Regions from separate parts of the Homo sapiens genome. Here region 2 is linked to region 1. The links are contacts of gene promoters, found by promoter capture Hi-C in human tissues and cell types (Jung and others, 2019). All regions are on one chromosome and are shown on one strand. Each heading gives the region's core, a stretch centred on a gene start or on the middle of the fragment in contact. The rest is flanking DNA. Distances are from core to core; before and after follow the strand shown. Region 1 holds the start of PARD6G (par-6 family cell polarity regulator gamma). Region 2 overlaps PARD6G (par-6 family cell polarity regulator gamma).

Region 1 (4,543 bases), core at 1,178-3,677:
TCTGGGTGGGGTATTGCTAACAAGTGCCAGGTGGAGCAGATTTTGGGCCTTACACCACACTCTGAGCCACAGGCATTGACAAAGTGATCTCACTCTCATCAACCTGGTCCAGAGCCAAGTCTAGGGCTACTTGAAATTCCGTAGCCTTCCAGCCTTTCCTTTAAAAGGCGTCTTCCCACTCCAAAGCCCCGAGCTTACTGGGTGGACCCCACTCCCACCTTCATTGCCTACAGTGCTGTTCATTCCTCCACATACTCCTTTGTCCCTGCATTTCTTAAAATGTGACAGTTGGAGCTCCTCCCTCAGGATATTACTGAGCCTCTTCTAACCACAAAACAATGTTGCCCACTGTAATGGGCAACTTGCAGTCAGCATTGAGCCTGTGACTTTTCTCAAATCCAAAGATTTGCATTCAGTTTAGGAAATTTCCCTTGAAAGAATGGCAGCACCTCTGTCCACAGTCTGCTTGCCAAGTGTGTGTCTCTTGGCATTTTTTGTTTGCTTGCTTACTTACTGCGCACGTGCCTTGTTTTGGAACTCTGTTTACATATCCGGTCCTCTGGCCAGCCTAGCATTTCTCTAAAGGGCAGTGATTATAACTCAGTGGCTTTGTAATGGTACTCCCTGGCACTAAGTCCCAGCATATAACAGGGTAAATACTTAGCAAAAATAAAGGAAAATCAGATTTCTATGAAAGTAATTTGTGTTAAAGGCTTTAGAGGTGTGTAGTTTGTGGCCTAGTAGTTCTAATTTTAGAAGTCCATTTAAAACATTGAATATAAGCAAATTTTTAAAACAGTGTGATATAAAAGCTTAACAGTGGAAACATCTTAAATATCCAACAATAATGAAATGATTATAAATTATGCCTATATTCATATAAGCACCTTTTAGAAAACATCTTCTCTAAGAACATTTAATAAAACCGTTCTGGCCGAGTATAGTGGCTCACATCTGGGAGGCAGAGGTGGAAGCATTGCTTGAGGCCAGGAGTTTGAGACAAGCCTGGACAACATAAAGAGACCCCCATCTTTACAAAAAACAAAAATAAAAATAAAATTAGTCTGTGTGGTGGCACAAATCTGTGGTCCTCAAGAGGCTGAGGTGGAAGGATTGCTTGAGCCAAGGAGTTTGAGGCTGCAGTGAGCTGTGATTATGGCATTGCACTACAACATGGGCGACATAGCAAGATCCTGTTTTTAGAAGAAGAAAAAGTTCATTATATAGCACAAGGTGAAAAGTGCAAGTTGTAAAACGAGATAAACAGCATGGTCACAACTTTGTAAAATATACAAATATATATGCAGAAAAATAAGTGAAAATAAAATACACCAAAGGTTAATACAGTTGATTGCTGAGTAGCATGACTACAGGTAATTTTTACAGGTTTTTTCACTTCTTTATATTCTGCAGGTTTCTTTTGCAATGAATGTATGGTGAGATTTATAATTATATGGCTTGTAGATTACAATTCATAGTATACTTCAAAATGATTTTTTAAAAACTGTCTTGTCTTCTGAACTTCATCACAAATTCCTCAAGGGCAAGGATTGTATCTTTGGTTTCAGCAAGCCCGTTTCAGAGGCCTCTTGATTGGTAAATATTCATTGATGCTGCTAGTAATTGATTCTTTGTCTTAACAGGTTCTCTTTTTCTAGCTGCCTTAGAAAAAGTCTCCTTTCGCATCAGGCAGGTGCTTCTGATCCTCTCCCTAGAGATAGGCTATCTAATAAAGCCCTCTAAGCCTTTATTTTTATTTTTTATTTTTTGAGACGGAGTCTCGCTCTGCCTCCCGGGCTGGAGTACAGTGATGCGATCTCGGCTCACTGCAGCCTCCGCCTCCCGGGTTCAAGCGATTCTCCTGTCTCAGCCTCCCCATTAGCTGGGATTACAGGCACCCCCCCCACCACACCCGGCTAATTTTGTATTTTTAGTAGAGATAGTGTTTCACCGTATTGGCCAGGCTGCTCTAAGCCTATTTGATAAAACCCTTCTCCCAGGCCATCAGCAACTTGACAATTAGTACTGACAGGTGATGCCTTTTGGGATCAGGTCTCCAGTGGTTCTCGTTAGCATTCTTCACTTGAATATTACCCAAAACAATGGCAAAAATCAACCCCTATCCTAGGTTGCTCGGTGGAGGCAATCAAAACGAGACGCCTTGGGCTGGCCGCGATGCTCCTTTCCCCAGGCTCTGGGATTGTGGACAGGAGGGCGCGCACCCACTGGCGATCCGACGCGGAGCTGCAGCGTGGGGGCGTGGTGTGGCGGGTCCTCCGGAGCGCGGGGCGGGGCTGTGGGCGGGGATATGGGCGGGTCCTCCGGGGCTCGGGGGCGGGGCGGGGCGCGGGCGCGGGCGCCGGGAGGTGGGGCGGCGCGCGCCGGCGTCCCCCGCGCTCCTCCCGCGCGCGGCCCCTGGAGTCCCTGAGGCGCGCGGCCAGCCCAGCTCGGGCCCGCAGCACCGGGAGCAGCCCGCCGGCCAAGCGAGCGCGGGCCGGGGCCGGGGCCGGGGCCTGGGGGCGCCGCCCCCGGGAGTCTTTCTGCGGCCCCTGAGGAGCGAGGGCGACGGCGAGGCTGACCGGGGCCGAAACCATGAACCGAAGTTTTCACAAGTCTCAGACCTTGCGATTCTACGATTGCAGCGCAGTGGAAGTCAAGAGCAAGGTAAGCCCCCCGCCCGCCCCGGCGGCCCTGCGCCCAGTCTCCTGGCTAATGAATGGGGCGCCCCGCGGAGGGGGACTGGGGCGGCGTGGAGGCGACAGGCGCCGGCGACAACTTTCCAGTTCGGGCGCCGCGCGCCGCTCCGCGGGACGCGCACTGGGGACCCCGGCCGTCCTTCCCGCCCCCCGCGCGGACACAAAGCCCGGCAGCCGCGGCGCTCAGAGGGCCGAGGGCCATCGGACAGTCCGGGCAGACTCTGGACCCGCTCCGCGGGAGCTGCTCTTTTGTTCCACGAGTGAGAGGCGATCGGGGCGCGCCACACATTGGAGGGGAGGGCGGCCTTTCCGGGGCGAGTTGAGGGCCAGGGGCTGCTCGGATTCGGGGCCGTGGGGGGGCTCTGGGGGCCCGGGCCGTGGGATGGCCCTGGCCAAGGCGCCTTCAAGGCTGCAAAGGAGGCTTGTTACCTGCCAGGAGGAGACTTGCCGCCGGCTCCGAGCCCGGCGTCCCCCACCCGCTCGGTACCAAACATCTAGGCACCAGGCGCGCTCCCCCGCGCAGACCCAGAGCACGCACCCGGCTCTCCCCCGGCCCAGACCCAGACCACGCCTCCCCGGGCGCGTCCCCGGGCCAGACACCCCACCCCACCCCCACGGGCGCGCCCCCACCCCAGACTCCCCCACCTCCGGACGCGCCCCCGCCCCAGACCCAGCCCACTCCCCCGGGCGCGCCCCCGGCTCAGACCCAGACCCCTCCCGAGCGCGCCCCCGGATCAGACCCGTACCCAGACCACCCCCACGGGCGTGCCCGGCCCCTCCCGCTGCCTGCGCCCGGGCGGAGCGTGCCCGAACTTGCGGGTCGCGATGCGCGTCTGGGTAATTGGCTGGTAGGATCTGGCGCTTCTGCCCTTTGCGGGGGTGGTTCCTTCGCCGCAGATGCTATTGTTTGTGAGGGTCTCCTTGGTGGACCCCGCGGGCTGAGGAGGTGCTGCAGTTGTTCGGGGTCCTGCGGGAGGGGGCCCCTCGAGTCTTTCGCTGGCTACTCTCTGGGAGTTGAGCGGCCCTTTCGCCCTTTCTTTCTTCGCACCCCGGTTCTCAGAGTTGTGGGAAAGGCTCCTAACGGCGGAGTGGGAGCCCGCACCCCTAACTGTGTGCCTATCTTGGGCGCAGGGCGGGTGTTCCCTCCCCTGTCTCTGGGGAGGCAAGTCCAACAGCCCCCTCTCGCTGTGCTGCTCTGACCTTTGGAGTAGGATTTCCAGGGTGTCTGCAGAGGATTGAGGCGGGGAGGTGTCCCAGCAACAGCATGGCCGCCTCTCCAGCCTGCTACAGTGAGTTGCAGGATCCTTCTCTGCTTAGGGGTACACGGTCTTTTAATGAATCCCTCATTTATCATAAGATCCTGTCCTTACCCTTGCCCCATGACCTCGGCCCCACACCCATCTTCTCTGGAGCACAGAAGTGCCCCCAGCTCCCCCAAATCAAGTGTGCCAGCTGTGGGTTAGGTGAGGGGAAGAGCCCACAAGCATGGGCGGGAGGTTTCTTTAGCTCAGTGGGAACACAGCTCTCTGGAGCTGCACTATCTAGTACAGTAGACAATAAGCACGTGTGGTATGTAATCTTATTTAACTTTTTATTTTGAGATTATTGTACATTCACAAGTAGCTGTGAGAGAATATAGAGGTCTGTGTTCTCAGCCTCTGAGCCTTTGCTCAGCCTCCCTGATGGTGGCATCTCGTGTGACTAGCACACTGTCGTATCCTGGACACAGACCTTAGCGGGTCTCAGCAGCGTGACACACTCATTCGTGTACGCCTAGGTCTGTGCGGTGGTGTGACCACCAACACAATCAAGGTGCAGAGCAGTTTTCCCCTTTCATCCTAGGATCC
Region 2 (4,543 bases), core at 1,142-3,641, 37 kb after region 1:
TTTTAAAAATTGTGGTAAAATAGACGTAAACTTCATCATCTTAACCATTTTTATGTGTACAGTTCAGTAGTATTAAGTCCAGTAAGTCCTCACTTATCATCGATAGGTTCTTGGAAACTGTGACTTTAAGCAAAACCACTGGTAATAAAACCAATTTACTATGGGCTGATTGATATAAACAAGAGTTAAGTTCCTGCAACATATTTCTCGTCACAAAAACATCACCAAACTTCTAAATAAAGACCCCAAATATTTATTATATTAAACATTTGAAATAAATGTGAGCTATACATTTAAGAAAGATTGATAAAAACAAGATAATTTTTTTTTTTTGAGATGGGGTCTCGCTCTGTTGCTCAGGCTGGAGTGCAGTGGCACAATCTCGGCTCACTGCAACCTCTGCCTCCCGGGTTCAAGTGATTCTCCTGTCTCAGCCTCCTGAGTAGCTGGGACTACAGGCGTGTGCCACCATACCCGGCCAATTTTTGTATTTTTTAGTAGAGATGGGGTTTCACCATGTTGGTCAGGCTAGTCTCGATCTCCTGACCTCATCATCCGCCCGCCTTGGCCTCCCAAAATGCTGGGATTACAGGCTTGAGCCACCACACCCGGCCAAAACAAGATAATTATTTACCCAATTTTTGGTGAATCAGTGACTGACAGCGGTTGTAGCGGTGGTGGATTAAATCAAGGAATAACTGTTTGCAAAGTGAAAATTGTAATGAGCACCTCCCACCACCATGCAGTTCAAAAGCAAACAATAACAAATATGGCCGGCACTTTCATACTGCAGCATTTATCGCAGTCATTTCTTGCCACGTATTTGTGTGATTACAGATTTTTATTTTACAATAATTTGTATTTATTCATTCACTTATTTTCCAACCTGTTTATTCCAGTTCATGGTTATGAGTGACTAGGACCTATCCCAGCAGCTCAGGGAACAAGGCAGGAACCAACCATGGGCAGGACACCATTCCATCACAGGTTACACTCACATACACACCCACAAGGACTTGGACAATTTAGACTCATCAGTTAACCTAATGTGCACATCTTTGGGACGTGGGAGGAAACTGGAGTAACTGGAGAATATGTAAATGTGAGGAGAACATGCAGACTCCACACAGACAGTGTGGCCCTGGCTGGGAATCGATTTTTTTTTATCAGTATTGTAGTGAAATAACATTGAATGAAACATTATTTGAGGACCTGCTGTATATTCATATTGTTACGCAGCCATCACCCATTTCCAGAACTCTTTTCATCTTGTAAAACTCAAACTCTGCATTCAAACTCCTCATTCCTCCTCCCTCAAGGCCCTGGCACCAACCATACTACTTTCTGTCTCTGTGATAAAATTTCGAGTACTCTATTTACCTCATATAAGTGGAATCATACAGTATTGTCCTTCTCTGACCAGCTTATTTCACTCAGCATAATGTCCTCAAGGTTCGTCCATGTTGTAGCACATCAGAATTTCCTTCCTTTTGAAGATGGAATAATATTCCATTGTATGTATGTGTCACCTTTTGCCTATTCATCCATTGATGGATACTTAGGTTTTTACATTCTAGCTATTGTGAATGATGCTGCTATGGACATGGATATACAAATATCTCCTCCAGATTCCACCTTCGGTTATTTTAGTTATATACCCAGAGGTAGAATGCTGGATCATATGGTAATTCTATTTGTAATGTTTTTAAGGAACTGCCATATTGTTTTTCACAGCAGCTGCACTGCTTTACGTTATCACCAGTCGTGCACAAGGATTCCAATTTCTCCACATCTTTGCCAACACTTACTATTTTGCTTTTTCGATAGTAGCCATCCTAATGGGTATGCGTCCCAGCATTGTCTTTTAAATGTGTTTGTCCAATTCCTGTTTGCCCCAATGGTAACTATTCCTCAGGCACTTTCACAGTGATCTCTATACCATAGTGCAGCAATCTTCAAGTATCACATATCCTCTAAAAGAATTTTAAGAACAAGTGTAAAGGAGATAATATATTTTTAAATTGGCATCTAATTTTTATCATAAGAAATATAAATAGCTGCAGAGGATCTAATTTCAAGCATGTTGTAAAATTTTCACTTAAAAGCAAACCTAAAAATACAGATGGCTTTTCAAAAAAAAAGAAAAAAATGCTACTGGGTCCCTTTCACAAAGGACCTTTTACTAAGTGACTAAGAAACTCAATCAACTAGTTTGAACTAAATGTGAATAGTTCCATTTGTCTGTCAGCAGATCATATTTTAACAGAGGCCTTCAATGTATTGACTCAAAGGAATGACTAGTGACGTGTGTTTGGGGATGGGGGGTGGGGAGGTTTTGCCAGTCATATCACATAAGCAGCTGCTTTGAAAATATCCCCACTTTCCGTGGTTTTAGGCAAGTAACTCGTTGTAAGTTCATTAAAGTAAATGCTTTGTATCTGGCAAGAGATGTAAAATTGGCAGGGAGTATGCAATAATTATTTGTTTATAATTAGTCGTTCCCTTTGTAGATAACCTATTTTGGTCCTACTAACAAAATAAACTTGGCCCATGGAAAAAAACTTTTTTTTAAACTTTGATCATATTAGCTTTAAATGTTAAACAGCTGATGCTGATTGTGTTCAGCAAATGCCCTGGGGACAAGGCTTTTCCCACTGAACTTGACCCTATGAGAAGGGCTTTTCCTGGAGCTGCAAGACAGGTCTGACGATGACAGTCCTGAGTGTGGGCTTTGGGGAACTTCCAGACTGGTTCTGCTCCCTCCCAGGCTGTGAGGCTGCTGGATTTCACAGTTGAGAGGTGGATAGGAAGTGAAAGCACCGCAAAGCTTGCTGCTCTTACTGAGATTCAGCTGCTTTTCTAGAATAAACACTCCTTGCATTGTTGCAAGCCATTGATTAATTTCCACGGTTCTCTAAAAGTTGGTTTTGACAGTTTTTCCCAGTATTCTGTCTTTAATGGATAAGCAGAGATTTGCAGGTCCTAGTCTTCCATTCTGGAAGTGCTTGGAGATTAACTTAAAACAGCACTGTCCTGTCATCTTTCCTGTCGTGCTTCCCAGGCTCCTAGCTGTCTTGGGTTTCCATCATCTTTTTGTCTCCTTGCTTATTGACCAAGAGCTGTATGGAACATTACTTTTATCGCAACTGGCTCCAAGGTATTATTCATTCAACAAGCACTTCTCGAGCTCTATCCCTTCTTCTGGAAGGAAAAGGGTCAAAATTATGATAAGAAGTTAGAGTTGGGGGAATAGATAGATATGATTAATAGAGATTGATATGATATAGGTGATAGATGGACATTTCTTATTTTCTATTTATAGTATAATGATGTTATCATTGAATACATTTTAAAGAAAATAAAAATGATTTGCATTTAGAAGCTTTTGATACACTTTGTATTTTTTGAGACAGGGTCTTACTCTGTCATCTAGGCTGGAGTGCAATGGTGCAGTCTCACTTCACTGCAGACTCCACATCCCAGGTTCAAACGATCCTCCTGCCTCTGCCTGCCAAGTGATTGAGACTACAGGCGTGTGCCACCACGCCTGGCTAATTTTTGTACTTTTCTGTAGAGACATGGTTTCCCCATGTTGCCCAGGCTGGTATCAAACTCCTAGAGTCAAACGATCCACCTGCCTTGGCCTCCCAAAGTCCTGGGATTACAGGTGTGAGCCACCACACCTAGCCAGATGCTGATACGCTTTTGCTTATTGATCTTGGTATTTTGTATTTGAGATAATTTTTAATAATTTTAAAAGATGAAATCTCCCCCAACCCCGTTTTTTACTATCCTGTTGTAGGAATAATAGTTGGGGTCAACTACAAAATAGAATAATCATTATCTAAATAATGAATGAGGGTTCATTTAGCTAGAAGCATTGAAGAATAAGAATTTGCACACCTGTGTATTTCCCAATAACAAATAATCTTATTCTTTAAAAATAAACATGGGATTCATAGGCTTACATACATTTCTTGCCATATACCTGGAATTAGCCATTTTGCCTCGGAACCATGGGTCCTTTTAAGGGGAAATGATACAGCTCATAGTGTCAGGGTACTGGTGAGGGAAAGGTGTGTTTTTTTTTTTTGTTTGTTTGTTTGTTTTCTTTTTTCGAGATGGAGTCTCACTCTGTTACTCAAGCTGGAGTGCAGTGGTGCAATCTTGGCTCACTGCACCCTCTGCCTCCTATGTTCAAGCAGTTCTCCTGGAGCACCCTCCCAAGTAGCTGGGACTACAAGCGTGTGCCACCACGCCTGCCTAAGTTTTTCTGTATTTTTAGTAGAGATGGGGTTTCACTATGTTGGCCAGACTGGTCTCGGACTCTCCCTTGGCCTCCCAAAGTGCTGAGATTACAGACATCAGCCATCGCTGGCCAATGTGGACTTTTTGATGGGGTTATCTATTAACTTGCTACTAACCTAGGCCAGGCACAGCAATGCAATCTTTTTTAGGAAATTTGATTTTTTTTTTTAACATAAACAAGGTCTTGCTATGTTGCCCAGGCTGACCTGGAACTCCTGGGCTCAAGTGATCCTCC

The links. The method cuts DNA at HindIII sites, captures the fragments that hold promoters and counts their contacts. A contact is called where the count stands out against the background at its distance.
Region 2: a contact is called between a fragment that was not itself captured here and the fragment with the promoter of PARD6G in region 1, in 2 of the 25 tissues and cell types used here (dorsolateral prefrontal cortex and pancreas).

The regions. Positions count from the first base shown.
Region 1 is chr18:80,245,398-80,249,940 of GRCh38, reverse strand. It overlaps PARD6G (par-6 family cell polarity regulator gamma), which reads left to right and starts at 2,427. Exons shown (of 3, transcript NM_032510.4): 1 at 2,427-2,664. The coding sequence starts at 2,593. RefSeq lists a silencer at 2,202-2,261 and enhancers at 3,288-3,787, 3,788-4,289. The HindIII fragment of the contact is 11,759 bases long and covers 328-4,543 here.
Region 2 is chr18:80,208,675-80,213,217 of GRCh38, reverse strand. The region is part of intron 1 of PARD6G (par-6 family cell polarity regulator gamma); the gene reads left to right. Among named protein-coding and RNA genes, the nearest start is that of PARD6G, 37 kb to the left of the region's middle. The HindIII fragment of the contact is 5,128 bases long and covers 1-4,543 here.